Linked DNA regions of Homo sapiens: all the other regions are linked to region 2. Evidence: promoter capture Hi-C in human tissues and cell types (Jung and others, 2019). All regions are on one chromosome and are shown on one strand. The core of a region is centred on a gene start or on the middle of the fragment in contact, and the rest is flanking DNA. Distances in the headings are between cores, read along the strand shown.

The links. Contacts are between HindIII fragments. The study calls those that stand out against the background at their distance.
Region 1: a contact is called between a fragment that was not itself captured here and the fragment with the promoter of NRN1L in region 2, in 2 of the 25 tissues and cell types used here (dorsolateral prefrontal cortex and spleen).
Region 3: a contact is called between a fragment that was not itself captured here and the fragment with the promoter of NRN1L in region 2, in 2 of the 25 tissues and cell types used here (dorsolateral prefrontal cortex and spleen).
Region 4: a contact is called between a fragment that was not itself captured here and the fragment with the promoter of NRN1L in region 2, in 3 of the 25 tissues and cell types used here (dorsolateral prefrontal cortex, lymphoblastoid cells and spleen).
Region 5: a fragment that was not itself captured here is called in contact with the fragment with the promoter of NRN1L in region 2 in 2 of the 25 tissues and cell types used here (dorsolateral prefrontal cortex and spleen).

What each region holds. Positions count from the first base shown.
Region 1 is chr16:67,606,908-67,609,607 of GRCh38, forward strand. All of the region lies in intron 2 of CTCF (CCCTC-binding factor), which reads left to right. Among named protein-coding and RNA genes, the nearest start is that of CARMIL2, 37 kb to the right of the region's middle. The HindIII fragment of the contact is 5,706 bases long and covers 1-2,700 here.
Region 2 is chr16:67,883,438-67,886,137 of GRCh38, forward strand. NRN1L (neuritin 1 like) reads left to right here and starts at 1,448. Exons shown (of 3, transcript NM_198443.2): 1 at 1,448-1,545; 2 at 2,285-2,417; 3 at 2,537-2,700. The coding sequence starts at 1,467. EDC4 (enhancer of mRNA decapping 4) reads left to right here. Exons shown (of 29, transcript NM_014329.5): 28 at 131-294; 29 at 519-1,062. The coding sequence ends at 711. RefSeq lists enhancers at 540-719, 1,025-1,534, 1,535-2,042. The HindIII fragment of the contact is 2,833 bases long and covers 1-2,503 here.
Region 3 is chr16:67,445,899-67,448,598 of GRCh38, forward strand. All of the region lies in intron 2 of ATP6V0D1 (ATPase H+ transporting V0 subunit d1), which reads right to left. Among named protein-coding and RNA genes, the nearest start is that of HSD11B2, 16 kb to the left of the region's middle. RefSeq lists an enhancer at 1,358-1,857. The HindIII fragment of the contact is 4,026 bases long and covers 1-2,700 here.
Region 4 is chr16:67,590,878-67,593,577 of GRCh38, forward strand. All of the region lies in intron 2 of CTCF (CCCTC-binding factor), which reads left to right. Among named protein-coding and RNA genes, the nearest start is that of CTCF, 30 kb to the left of the region's middle. The HindIII fragment of the contact is 6,285 bases long and covers 1-2,700 here.
Region 5 is chr16:68,147,478-68,150,177 of GRCh38, forward strand. The region is part of intron 3 of NFATC3 (nuclear factor of activated T cells 3); the gene reads left to right. Among named protein-coding and RNA genes, the nearest start is that of NFATC3, 63 kb to the left of the region's middle. The HindIII fragment of the contact is 8,254 bases long and covers 1-2,700 here.

The DNA.
Region 1 (2,700 bases), core at 103-2,602, 280 kb before region 2:
AGGCACACCCCACCACACTCAGCTATATATGTTTTATTTTATTTTAATTATTATTATTTTTTTGAGACAGAGGCTCGCTCTGTTGCCCTGGCTGGAGGGAGTACAGTGGCCCAATCTCAGCTCACTGCAACCTCCACCTCCCAGGTTCAAGCAATTCTTCTGCCTCGGCCTCCTGAGTAGCTGGGATTACAGGCATGTGCCACCACACCTGGCTAATTTTTGTATTTTTAATAGAAACGGGGTTTTGCCGTGTTGGCCAGGCTTGTCTCCATCTCCTGACTTCAAGTGATCTGCCCGCCTCGGCCTCCCAAAATGCTGGGATTACAGGCCTGAGCCACCACGCCTGGCCCCTATTTTACTCTTGTTTAGGTAATGTCATTCACAAGATTTTTGTTTGTTTTTTATTTTTTGTTTTTGAGACCGAGTCTCACTCTGTCGCCCAGGCTGGAATGCAGGGGCACTTTCTCAGCTCGCTGCAACCTCCACCTCCAGGGTTCAAGTTCTTTTCGTGCCTCAGCCTCCCAAGTAGCTGGGATTACAGGTGCACACCACTACGCCTGGCTAATTTTTGTATTTTTAGTAGAGATGGGGTTTTGCCATGTTAGCCAGGCTGGTCTTGAACTCCTGGCCTCAACTGATCCACCAGCCTTGGCCTCCCAAAGTGCTGGGATTACAGGCGTGAGCTACCGTGCCCGGCCCATTCACAAGATATAAGAGCCAAAAACTATGAATTGGCTGATTTGTTTTCTGCTTTCTATTATATATTCAATTTGGTTGGCATTTATTGAGTACTTACCATCCTGGGCACAGTGCTAAAGAGTAAAAACCGTGGCTGGGCGTGGTGGCTCACGCCTGTAGTCCCAGCACTTTGGGAGGCCGAGGCGGACAGATCACGAGGTCAGAAGTTCAAGACCAGCCTGGCCAACATAGTGAAACCCCGTATCTGCTAAAAATACAGAAAATTAGCCAGGTGTGGTGGTGGGCACCTGTAATCCCAACTACTCCGGAGGCTGAAGCAGGAGAATCACTTAAACCTGGGAGGCAGAGGTTGCAGTGAGCCAAGATCACGCCATTGCACTCCAGCCTGGGCGACAGTGCGAGACTCCGACTCAAAAAAAAAAAAAAAGTAAAAACCGGTTGGGCGCAGTGGCTCACACCTGTAATCCCAGCACTTTGGGAGGCCGAGGCAGGCGGATCACGAGGTCAGGAAATCGAGACCATCCTGGCTAACATGGTGAAACCCCGTCTCTACTAAAAATACAAAAAATTAGCCGGGCATGGTGGTGGGCGCCTGTAGTCCCAGCTACTCGGGAGGCTGAGGCAGGAGAATGGCGTGAACCTGGGAGGCGGAGCTTGCAGTGAGCGGAGATCGTGCCACTGCACCCTAGCCTGGGCAACAGAGCGAGACTCCGTCTCAAAAAAAAAATTAAAAAAAAAAAAACGACTTGTTAGATGTGGTTCTTATTCTCAGGGAATTCCTGATCTCATTGTCAGGAGAGAGGTGAATGTCAAGTTGATGGTATGACATGGGCAGTTTTGTGCAGTGTCTACAAACACGGCCATTGCAGTCTGGATCTAAGTTCTGAGTTTGGCTTCAAAAAACAAGGTCAAAAACCCTTGACAGGGTGGGGAAAATGGGGAATTGCTGTTGAGTGGGTATAAAGTTTCAGTTATGCAAGATGAGTAAGTTCTAGAGATCTGCTACACAACATAGTTCCTGTATTAATCGTATAGCATTATGCACTTTGAATTATGTTGAGGATGGATCTCATGATAAATATTATCACCAAAAACAAAATACAAGGAAATTTTGGAGGTGTATTTAGTGTTTTTTTTTTTCTTTTTTGAGACGGAGTTTCGTTCTTGTTGCCCAGGCTGCACAGTACAATGGCGCAATCTTGGCTCACCGCAACCTCCACCTCCCGGGTCAAACGATTCTCCTGCCTCAGCCTCCCAAGTAGCCAGGATTACATACAGGCATGCACCATCACACCTGGCTAATTTTGTATTTTTACTTAGGACGGGGTTTCTCCATGTTGTTCAGGGTGGTCTCGTACTCCCGACCTCAGGTGATCCACACACCTCAGCCTCCCAAAGTGCTGGGATTATAGGCGTGAGCCACCACGTGCTTAATAAAGCTACCTTAATAAAGCTTTTTACAAAACATTGGCAGACCCGGGCACAGTGGCTCAGTCACATGTATAATCCCAGCACTTTGGGAGGCTTAGGTGGGAGGATTGCTTCAGCCCAGGAGTTCAAGGCCAGTCTGGAAATGTGGCAAGACCCCATAATTGCAGAAAATTAAGCTAATTCATATATGCATCATCTCACATCCTTGTCATTTTTTGTGATGAGAACACTTAAAAATCTGCTCTCAGTTATTTTCAGGTATACGTTATTATTAACTGTAATATTCATGTTGTATAATAGATCTCTTGAACTTATTCCCACTGAAATTATATGTCCTTTACCAGTGTCTTCCCCACTACATGTGTAAGATTTAAATTAGTTTTGTTAGTAATTCTTTAATATCATCAGATATCCAGAGTTGAAATTTCTAATTGTCTTGTGTCACATCTTTTTCACCATTTATTGGTTTGAATCAGGATCCAAAGAAGATTCATGCATTGTGATTGATTACTGTCTCTTTAAGACTCTTTTATCTGTATCAGAGTTTCTCAGCCTCAGTGCTCTTGACAT
Region 2 (2,700 bases), core at 198-2,697:
TCTCTCTGAGTCCCTCTGGAGCTCTCACTAGCCCACCCTGTGGTCATCCTCCCCCAGGCCACACAGTTCAGACAAGCAGACATTCCATCCTGATATTTGCTATAAACACTGCTGCTTTTTTCTCCTCCAGGCGCTGACAGCTGCTGACCTGAACCTGGTGCTGTATGTGTGTGAAACTGTGGACCCAGCCCAGGTTTTTGGGCAGCCACCCTGCCCGCTCTCCCAGCCTGTGCTCCTTTCCCTCATCCAGCAGCTGGCATCTGACCTTGGCACTCGAACTGACCTCAAGCTCAGGTAAGTGGGGACAGCCAGGGATGGGGAGATGAGCTGGGGAGTGGGGCAGTGGGAGGGAGCAGTTTGAAGCTGACGCCCACTTCTGCCTGAATCCTCTCCCTAATTTTCTCCACCAGTCCTTTCTGCCTTCACCCAGAGGGTTCCCTCTGGGCCTCGGTGCCACCAGGGGGCGCTCCCGTCTGCTGGCACCCACCTGTAGCCTGTCCTTTCCCCCCCATCCCCAGCTACCTGGAAGAGGCCGTGATGCACCTGGACCACAGTGACCCCATCACTCGGGACCACATGGGCTCCGTTATGGCCCAGGTGCGCCAAAAGCTTTTTCAGTTCCTGCAGGCTGAGCCACACAACTCACTTGGCAAAGCAGCTCGGCGTCTCAGCCTCATGCTGCATGGCCTCGTGACCCCCAGCCTCCCTTAGCTGCTAAGCCTGCCTTGCCCAGGGGTGGGATGGCACTGAAGGCCAGCAGACAGGCCTAGGCTGGGGCAGGGTCACGGCTGGCCTTTACCTGCTCAGGCCCCCATCTCTGGGGTGTTTGGGGGTCAGGGAGCAGGGAGCACTGGCCGTGGTCTACAGCGTGTGGTAGTCAGAAGGTTTAGCTGGGCCCAGGGCAGGTATTGCGCCTGCTTGGGTTCTGCCATGCCTGGAGCATGACCCTGAGATCGTGACACCACTTGAGTGGAATTTTCCATGTTCCTTTTTACCTCTAATTTGGATCTTTTTGTTTTTGAAAAACATTGAGAAATTCAATTAAATGCTTTTGGAATAAAATGGAGTATGTGTGTGCTTTTGGTTTGTCTTTGGTGTGACTCTCATAACTGCCGTCTGTTCGTTCTCTGCCCATCTCTTGCCCGTGGAGCTCTGTCGAGGCCAACCCAGCCAAGGGGCCGGGTTACCCACTCATCTGCTCCAACTGCCTTCCCAGATCTCCCTTCTCCCTCCTTCTATGGAGTGAGGGTCCAGGGGCCTGCCCAGCACCAGCCTGTGCTCCTGCGAATTTCTGCTCTCTGAGGTCTCCTCGCTCCTTTTCCCATCTGGGTGTTGGAGGCGGAGCCGCCGGCTGGGTTCGGAGCCCCACCCCCAGCTCCCATCCAATCACCGTCCCTCCCTCCGGGGGCTGGGCGGACGGGCTGCACTCCAAGCAGCTAGCTCCTGCACTAGGCTCTCAGCCAGGGATGATGCGCTGCTGCCGCCGCCGCTGCTGCTGCCGGCAACCACCCCATGCCCTGAGGCCGTTGCTGTTGCTGCCCCTCGGTGAGTGCGGGCATCCGGGGCCCGGGCCACACCCCCTTCTCGCCCAGCCAAGCCAGGCTGGGCATAGGGTGTGTGGGAACGCTGGGTGCCAGGGTGGAGAAGAGTTGTAAGGGCTCCAGGAAGGTGTGCTGGTGACTTCAGGACAGAAAGTGAGAGGCACAAACAGCCCCAGTTATGGGAGAAGGACTCCAAAATTTGCATCCCCTCTTATGATAAAGGGAGACATGCCAATGGCAGGACTTATAGACCAGTCGTAGGATCCCTAAGTCCTCTCTGAGGGTCTGGCCTGGATCCCAATACCTCTGCATCCTGCCTTGTCTCTCCAAAAATATTTATCTTTAGAGAGAGTTCGGAGGGCCAAGCAAAGCTTGTCTAAACCGCAGAGAGATGCACCTGCTCCTGGTCCGGGGCCTCTGGACCTCCCTCCCCTCCACCCTGTCCTGACTCCTTTACATGGACCCTTGTCACCCCACCTGCGGCCCCAGAAGCTCAAAGGAAGAGCTGACCTGGGGTACACAACACCCCCTTCCCCTGTACAAATCCCAGTCTGGGTCCTACCTTGAAGGGGGCCTGGGTAGGTAATCCCCAGACTTGCCCTTTAGTTCCCTGGGGCACCCTTTTTCCGCTGAGTCACATCCCCAGAGTGCTCCCAGGTAAACAAGCCCCTGGGGGCTGGGGGATGAGCCTGGCTCATCCTATCTACCATTCCTTCCCCACCCCACCCCCGCCCCACTTCTAGTCCTTTTACCTCCCCTGGCAGCAGCTGCAGCGGGCCCAAACCGATGTGACACCATATACCAGGGCTTCGCCGAGTGTCTCATCCGCTTGGGGGACAGCATGGGCCGCGGAGGCGAGCTGGAGACCATCTGCAGGTACCGGCGGGTGTGAGGCAGTGGCCCAACCTGTGCCACCATTGGGGACTGAACCTTTTATTTCCCAAGCTAAAGTCTCCTTGCCTCACCTAATCCCCCTAATCCCACTCCCTTAACAGGTCTTGGAATGACTTCCATGCCTGTGCCTCTCAGGTCCTGTCAGGCTGTCCGGAGGAGGCAGCTGCAGTGTGGGAATCACTACAGCAAGAAGCTCGCCAGGCCCCCCGTCCGAATAACTTGCACACTCTGTGCGGTGCCCCGGTGCATGTTCGGGAGCGCGGCA
Region 3 (2,700 bases), core at 23-2,522, 440 kb before region 2:
TGAACTCAGGGTATGAGGGAGCTAAATGAGGCCTAGGGGAAATTCCTCCAAGGTCAAGGTGAGGCACCTATGGGATAAAAGTTGGGGTGGAGGCTGCTGTTCTGAGCTGGGCACTGAACACGGGTCTTGTCCTAGCTTCTGAGTGGGCCAGAGCTAGGCCCCTGCCCTGTGACAGGACCTTGTGCAACTAGTGCTCAGGCTGTCCAGAGAAGACCTTGGTAGGAGGTGTCTTCCCCCATACTGAAGAAAGAAAGGAGGGGAGGTGGCAGCCCAGGGCCCAGGCCACGGCTCAAAGCACTGGCCACTGGGGGAGCTCCCACAGGGCCCTCTAGAAAGGCGGCAGGAGGAAAAGGCCCCAGCTCCTGTCCTGGCCTGACCCCCACTCCCCCTGCTTGCTCTGCACTCCCCCAGCTCCCACCCAGCCTGGCGCCCTGCGAAGACCTTTGCTCTCCTGGGCCTGGAGCCAGGCAACTGCCCTCTCTCCACCCCCAATCTGGCTGGGTCAGCTACAGGATGTGCACTGAGAAGAGACAGTCCCCTAACTCCCAACCATAACTGAGAGCCTTAAGCAGGGCCCACTTGCAGCTGCAAGCCAAGAGGCCCAAATGGGCAGCCTCCTGCCCCCAACCCCACAGTGCTGGCAGAGTGAGGGACCTCAGAGCTCGCCAGAGCTTTGGGCCATGGTCTGCAGCTCCAGCCTGCATATTTTCTACCCCGGACAGCACACACGCCTCCTGCCTATGAGGCCTCCAACATCTCACATACCCCAGAACCCATGCTGCATATGCGCCACCCCGCAATACTCTAACTGCACCCCATCCAGCCCCAATGTAGCCTTGGTGCTCCCTGAGACAGTCACAAATCCCCTGCCCCCAAGCAGAAGGATGCTTTCTTATGCTCTCCCTCCCTTTCGGACGGGAAGAGGGAGAAAAAGCACACCCAAGGCCCACCTTATCCAAGTGATCCCACAACCACTAGCATTACCAGCCCCACTGTCAGAGCAGATAAGGCCCAGAGAGGGCCAGCACCAGGCCCTAACACACCACAAAGCAGAGGAGCTCCACGTCCCCATGGCCAATGTCCACACACCTCCACCCATGACCAGGGCCCCCTGCCTGGCTCTACATACCCCACCTAGTCTCATTTTCTCAGAGGGATCCCCACCAGCCAATCTCCTCTTTTTCAACGTCCCCCTCCTTGCGCCCCCCACTCAGGGCATCTGTTTATGTGGGGGAAATGCTGAGCCTAGTAAGGGCCACTCACAATCGCACTACCCCAGCCCCTTCAAGGCCCTCTTCAAACCCAAGCCAGGCCAATCGTGGGCGATCCTGTGCCAGGCCCAGCACTTCCCTTGCCGGGCTGGCTATAAGCTTGTTGCTGCTGCAGCCCTGCTTTTCTCTCCTGCCCAGTGAGGGGCAGAATCCTCTTTTTCAGGAGATGAGAGGCTGGACAGGCCTGGCAGAGATAAGGCTGGCCCAGCAGTCTGCCTTTCTCCCAAGGCCGAGGCCTTCGGCAGGCAGGGAAATCCTCCTCTTCCTCCTTGCCTGGCTTCAGCAGCTGCCTCCCTGCCCCCAGAAAGCCACTCCACCATTCCTCCCCTCATTTGGCCTCAATAGGAGGGAATAAGGTTCCAGCTGGTCAGCATCTCCCTCCAGGGGAAGACAGCTGGGGAGTGGAGGGCCGGCTGCCCGCCAGGCCAAAGAGGCCCTTGTGGGGTGGGGGTGGGGCCGTCTGTATTCCTCTGCCCAGAGGCCCTCCCTTGCCCTGTGCCTTCAAAACTCAGCTTGGGCCCACAGACATCTTGGGTTGGAGTTTAGGAAGCCACTTCCTCCAAGAAGCCTTCAGAGTCCCTAGCCAACTCTGCCCCTCTGCTGCGCCCTTTGGTGCCACCTGCTGGAACAATATGGCTTCTCAACCCCGGGTGGCTGGTCTGGTGCTGGTGAGGCAGCCATGATGCCTGGGTAACCCTGCCAGCCTGTCCACTGCAGTCCCCAGCAGGTGCTCCAGTGAGCTGCTAATGACAGTATCTGTATTCAATCACTTCTGGGTCCTGAAGAGCCCTGTGCAGAGTGGAAAGTGAACAGAAATATCACTGTTTCTGAGCTCTGTCCATGGCCTCAGCACACCACCTCTCGAGACTTAGTTTCTCCTCCATATCAAGATGAGTGAGGGCCAGGCATGGTGGCTCACACCAGTAATCCCAGCACTTTGGGAGGCAGAGGTGGGAGGCTCTCTTAGCTCAGGAGTTTGAGGCCAGCCTGGGCAACATAGCAAGACCTCATTTCTATTAAAAAATCAAAAAAATTAGCCAGGTGTGGTGGCATGCACTTGTAATACCAGACACTTGGGAGGCTGAGGCAGGAGGATCACTTGAGCCCAGGAGATCAAGGCTGCAGGTGAGCTATGATCATGCCACTGCACTCCAGCCTGGGCAACAGAGCAAGATCCTATCTCAAAAAATAAAATAAATAGAAGATGAGGGTGGGTGCTGTGGCTCATGCCTGTTATCCCAGCACTTTGGGAGGCCGAGGAGGGCGGATCACTTGAGGCCAGGAGTTTGAGACCACCCTGGCCAACATGGTGAAATCCTGTCTCTATTAAAAATACAAAAATTAGTCGGGTGTGGTGGCGCACACCTGTAATCCCAGCTGCTCTGGAGGCTGAGGCAGGAGACTCACTTGAACCTGGGATGCGGAGCTT
Region 4 (2,700 bases), core at 91-2,590, 290 kb before region 2:
TTGAACCCGGGAGGTGGAGGTTGCAGTAAGCTGAGATGGCACCATTGCACTCCAGCCTGGATGACAGAGTGAGACTCTGTCTCAAAAAAAAAAAAAAAAAAAAAAATGCTGGACTGGGTGGCTCACACAAATGCTGTGATTACAGGCGTGAGCCACCGTAATCCCAGCACTTTGGGAGGCCGAGGCGGGCAGATCACTTGAGGTCAGGAGTTTGAGACTAGCCTAGCCAACATGATGAAACCCCATCTCTACGAAAAATACAAAAATTAGCTAGTCGTGGTGATGCGTGCCTGTAATCCCAGCTACTCAGGAGGCTGAGGCTGAGAATTGCTTGAACACAGGAGGCAGAGATTGCAGTGAGCCAAGATCTCACCACTGCACTCCAGCCTGGGTGACAGAGCGAGACTCTGTCTCAAAAAATAAATGAAAATTAATGTCAGAGAAGTGAGAGGTACAGTTGTGATTAAATAGATGAGTGCTTTTTCAGATAAAGGCTGCTTCCGTTCCCAGTCACTGTGAAAGAAATGGTCACTATTATTTTTCTGCTTCTCAGCCCAAGTTATTCTCCCAATTCAACTCCTCCTCATTCTTTATTGTAGTCTACAACTTTCCTGGTACTAGTTCACTGATACTTTGCTTTGATGTATTTTAAGCTCTCAGATAAGATGATGGCGTATATGTTTTCAGGAATAGCAGAGTAAAATGGTTATTTTGTTTAACTTTTAAACCTAGCTTTTACTCTAAAAGAGTTAATAACTTTTATTCGTTTTGGCTAGTGTCCTGCATCTAGTAAAAGTTACTTAGCTTTTCCTTTCATCCTCAGGAAAAACTGATTACTTTTTTTGGGGGGGGGCAGTAAGGGCACAGAGTCTTGCGCTGTCACTCAGACTGGAATGCAGTGGTGTGATGATAGCTTACTGCAGCCTGGGCTCAGGCGATCCTCCCGCCTCAGTCCCGAGTAGCTGGGACTACAGATGGATGCCATCATACCTAGCTAATTTTTTTTTTAATTTTTAATGGAGACAAGGTCTCACTATGTTGCTCAGGCTGGTCTTGAACTCCTGGGCTCAAACGATTCTCTTGGCTCTGCCTCCCCAAGTACTGGGATTATATGTGTGAGCCACTGTGCCCGACCTGATGACTTATAATTGCTTTTTTTCCCCTCCTTGTCCTAATGTCATTTAACATTCTGTATAGTGAGAATACCAGACTAAGCTTTTCAGTCAACATTTTTCTAATGTAAAGATCTATCGACTGGACGCAGTGGCTCACACCTGTAAACCCAGCACTTTGGGAGGATGAGGCGGGCACATCACCTGAGGTCAGGAGTTTGAGACCAGCCTGGCCAACATAGTGAAACCCTGTCTCTACTAAAAATACAAAAATTTGCTGGGCATAGTGGTGTACGCCTGTGATCCCAGCTGCTCAGGAGGCTGAGGCAGGAGAATTGCTTGAACCCTGGAGGCAGAGGTTGCAGTGGCCGGGATTGTGCCACTGCGCTCCAGCCTGGGTGGCAGAGCAAGAATCTGTCTAAAAAAATAAATAAGGCCAGGCACAGTGGCTCATGCCTGTAATCCCAGTAATTTAGGAGGCTGAGGTGGGAGGATCACCAGAGCTCAGAAGTTTGAGACCATCCTGACCAGTATGGTGAAACCCTGTCTCTACTAAAAATATAAAAATTAGCCGGCATGGTGGCATGCGCCTGTAGTCCCAGCCACTCGGGAGGCTGAGACATTAGAATTATTTGAGCCCAGGAGGCGGAAGTCGCAGTGAGCCAAGATCGTGCCACTGCACTGCAGCCTGGGTGACAGAGTGAGACTCCGTCTCAAAAACAACAACATCAAAAAAAGATACTTACAGAGGCCAGGCGTTGGTGACTGGCTCAACGTCAGTAATCTCAGCACTTTGGGAGGCCGAGGTGGGTGGATCACTTGAGCTCAGGAGTTTGAGACCAGCCTGGCCAACATGGTGAAACCCCGTCTCTACTAAAAATACAAAAATTAGCGGGGCACAGTGGCATGTGCCTGTAGTCCCAGCTACTTAGGAGGCTGAGGCAGGAGAATCGGTTGAACCTGGAGGCAGGGGTTGCAGTGAGCCGAGATCGCGCCACTGCATTCCAGCCTGGGTGACAGAGTGAAACTCCATCTGGAAAAAAAAAATTTATATATATATGTATAAATGTTTAATATATATTTTATATTTATATATTTGTATATCTTTTTTATATTTTAATATATGGTTTTTAATATATATTTTATACATATAAAGAGAAAGGTGCAAGGTATCTTCTGTTCTCTTAAAATTTTTTACAATTTCAACTTTTATTTTAGATTCGGGGGTACATGTCCAAGTTTTTTTGTGTACATGGGTATATTGTGTGATTATGAGGTTTGGGGGTACAATTGTTGCTCATCACCCAGGTAATGAGCATAGTACCCAATGATTAGTTTTGCAGCCCTTACCCCGTTTTCTCCCTCCCCCTCCTAATCCCTAAGGCCTATTGTTATGTTTATGTCCATGTGTACCCAGTGTGTAGCTTCCACTTGTAAGTGAGAACATGAGATACTTGGTTTTCTGTTCCTGCCTTAATTCGCTTAGGATAATGACCTCCAGCTGCATCTGTGTTGCTGTAAAGGACATTATTTCATTCTTTTTTATGGCTGTGCGTTCTCTGCCTTCTTATGATGTCTGAGGGTTCGT
Region 5 (2,700 bases), core at 138-2,637, 260 kb after region 2:
AACAATGATTGAATGCCTGTAATGTGCTAGGCGCTCTGCTAGGCTCTGGAGATAACAAGATGGATACTGTCCTCTTCACAGTGCTCACAGGCAAGTGGTAAAGTTGTTGCTGTTTATTTCTCCACTTGATGAACAGTTGGTCATGTAGAATAATTTGTTAAATTTATGATTAAACATGAAAGAGCAACAGGTATACCAAAAAGGAATGACTAATCACTGAATAGATGAATGTGAGGAAGTTGCCTAATCATTGTTAGCTTCAGATTATCTGTGAACTGAAAAAAAAAAAAAAAAAAAGACATATAGTCCACAGGAGTTTTTGGATGCAGTGAACTATAACCACTCTCTACCTTCATTTTTTTTTACCTCTGGGTATAAATCTGGATGAATCTCACGTGGCATTATTACTTACCCCATCTGCCGCCAGATAAACCAAAAGAGTAATGGCTGAAATTTGTTTTTGCACAGATACACATAAAATATATGCCCAAACTTTTCCAGTTTCCTTTTAGCTATTGATTTATTTAGGATTTATTTATTTATTTATTTAGAGATGGAGTTTTGCTCTTGTTTTGCACTCCAGGCTGGAGTGCAATGGCGCGATCTCGGCTCACTGCAACCTCCGCCTCCTGGGTTCAAGCGATTCTCCTGCCTCAGTCTTCCTGAGTAGCTGGGATTAGAGGCATTCGCCACCATGCCCGGCTAATTTTGTATTTTTAGTAGAGATGGGGTTTCTCCATGTTGGTCAGGCTGGTCTCGAACTCCCGACCTCGGGTGATCCACCTGCCTAGGCCTCCCAAAGTGCTGGGATTACAGGTGTGAGCCACCGTGCCTGACCTAGGCTTTATTTTTGTTATTGTGATGATATTGACATTTTATAGTTTTATGGAATAGTTTCCATAATTAAAGCTTTGAAATTTATTAATTTTACACTAAAATGTGTAAAAAAATTACAAATGAGAATACTGATAGATTTCTTGACTACATAAAAATTAAAATATTTACAGAAAATGGAAACATAAATGTAATAAATTGAACAGGTTTACTTTCACTAAACATAAGACAGCTGTAGCTTAAGCCTGCTGGCAGGTGAGAAAGAACCAATAAGCAAGCAGCACAAGTCATTTTGCATCTGAGAACTCTGGAAAGGTTCAGGAATTTGACGTACTGGATATCTCTGAAAGTGGGATGTGAGGTGAGACTGAAAACAAGAAGATTGGATAAAAAGTCTATAAAAGAAGGAGTTAAGACCGGGCACGGTGGTTCACACCTGTAATCCTAGCACCTTAGGAGGTTGAGGCGGGTGGATCATTTGAGGACAGGAGTTTGGGACCACCTGGCCAACATGGTGAAACCCTGTCTCTACTAAAAATACAAAAAAATTAGCCGGGCATGGTGGCTCATGCCTGTAGTTCCAGCTACTCAGGAGGCTGAGGCAGAAGAATTGCTTGAACCTGGGAGGTGGAGGTTGCAGCACCACTGCACTCCAGCCTGGGCAACACAGCGAGACTCCATCTTAAAAGAAAAAAAAATTAAATTGAATTTAAAAAGGACTTAAATTTCCCAGATGTTTCTTTCCTGTGTGGTACAGCCTAGTGATAATGCCTGTCTTACCCTGAGAGAATCTGGTGATTCTATAGAGAGAATGAAGTGGAGGTTCTAGATTCTAGGAGAGCTAAAGGCTAGGCTTAATGATCTGTTCTTAAAATGGGGTGGGGGCGGAAGGGAAGGCATAATGGAAGTCTGCATACTGAAGAGTGAGACCTCTGACCATTTTATTAGTTCCCACAATGCTTGCAATAGGTTTACTATGCTCCCTAGGCAGAAGACTGCAGGATGTGTTTTAGGCAAACTCACTGGTCCAGTAGAAGAGACCTGTAGATTCTAAGAAATAAACTTTACTTTTAACATGTTTAAATTACTGTTACTTTGGATTTTTGTTTATGCAGCCAAACTTAATCCTAATATAAAAGGCAATTATTAACTGTAACCAAATAAGTTGTATGAAAAAGGAAATATAATTAAAATACACTACAAGGCTGAGCTGCAAGTAACATGTATCCAGTTATAATGCAAACACTGAAAGTTCAAAAGATAATATATCTAACCTTGAAAAACATTAGGAAATAGCAGTATTAACATGTTCCTTAGAAATATGGAAGTAAGTTCCAAAAGAAACAGTGAAAAGGGTTACAAATGGTTCCCTTCTGAGGAGCAGAAATTGATCCAGAATTGGTGATAAATGGAAAACAAAACCATATTTATAACTTGTAAGGCAGACAAAGGGTTAATATGCTTAGTATATCTAAAGGGCTTGTAAAATTAATAATACTAAAATAGAAACAGAAAATGAGCAAATCATATAAACAGCCACAAAGGGGAAAAGTTGTCTGTGTAGACTATTACCACTTCTCTGTTCTTTGCTTTTTTGATAGGTTAGAAGTAGTTTTCTTATTTATTTGATATTTAATAAGATTGAGCATTTTTCCATTTATTTATTAGCTGTTTTTCCCTGCTTTATATGCTCTACTTATATCCTTTGAGAAGGGTAGTTGGAATTACGATTTGTCATCTTCCTTGAATCTGGAATTGTTTCTGCAGTATGAATTATAATAAAGAATCTTGCCCGTTGCAAAACATTATTATAAACCTTTGGTGGTTATATCCTGAGGTCTTTGTGCCTCTTTGGTTACAAGTCTT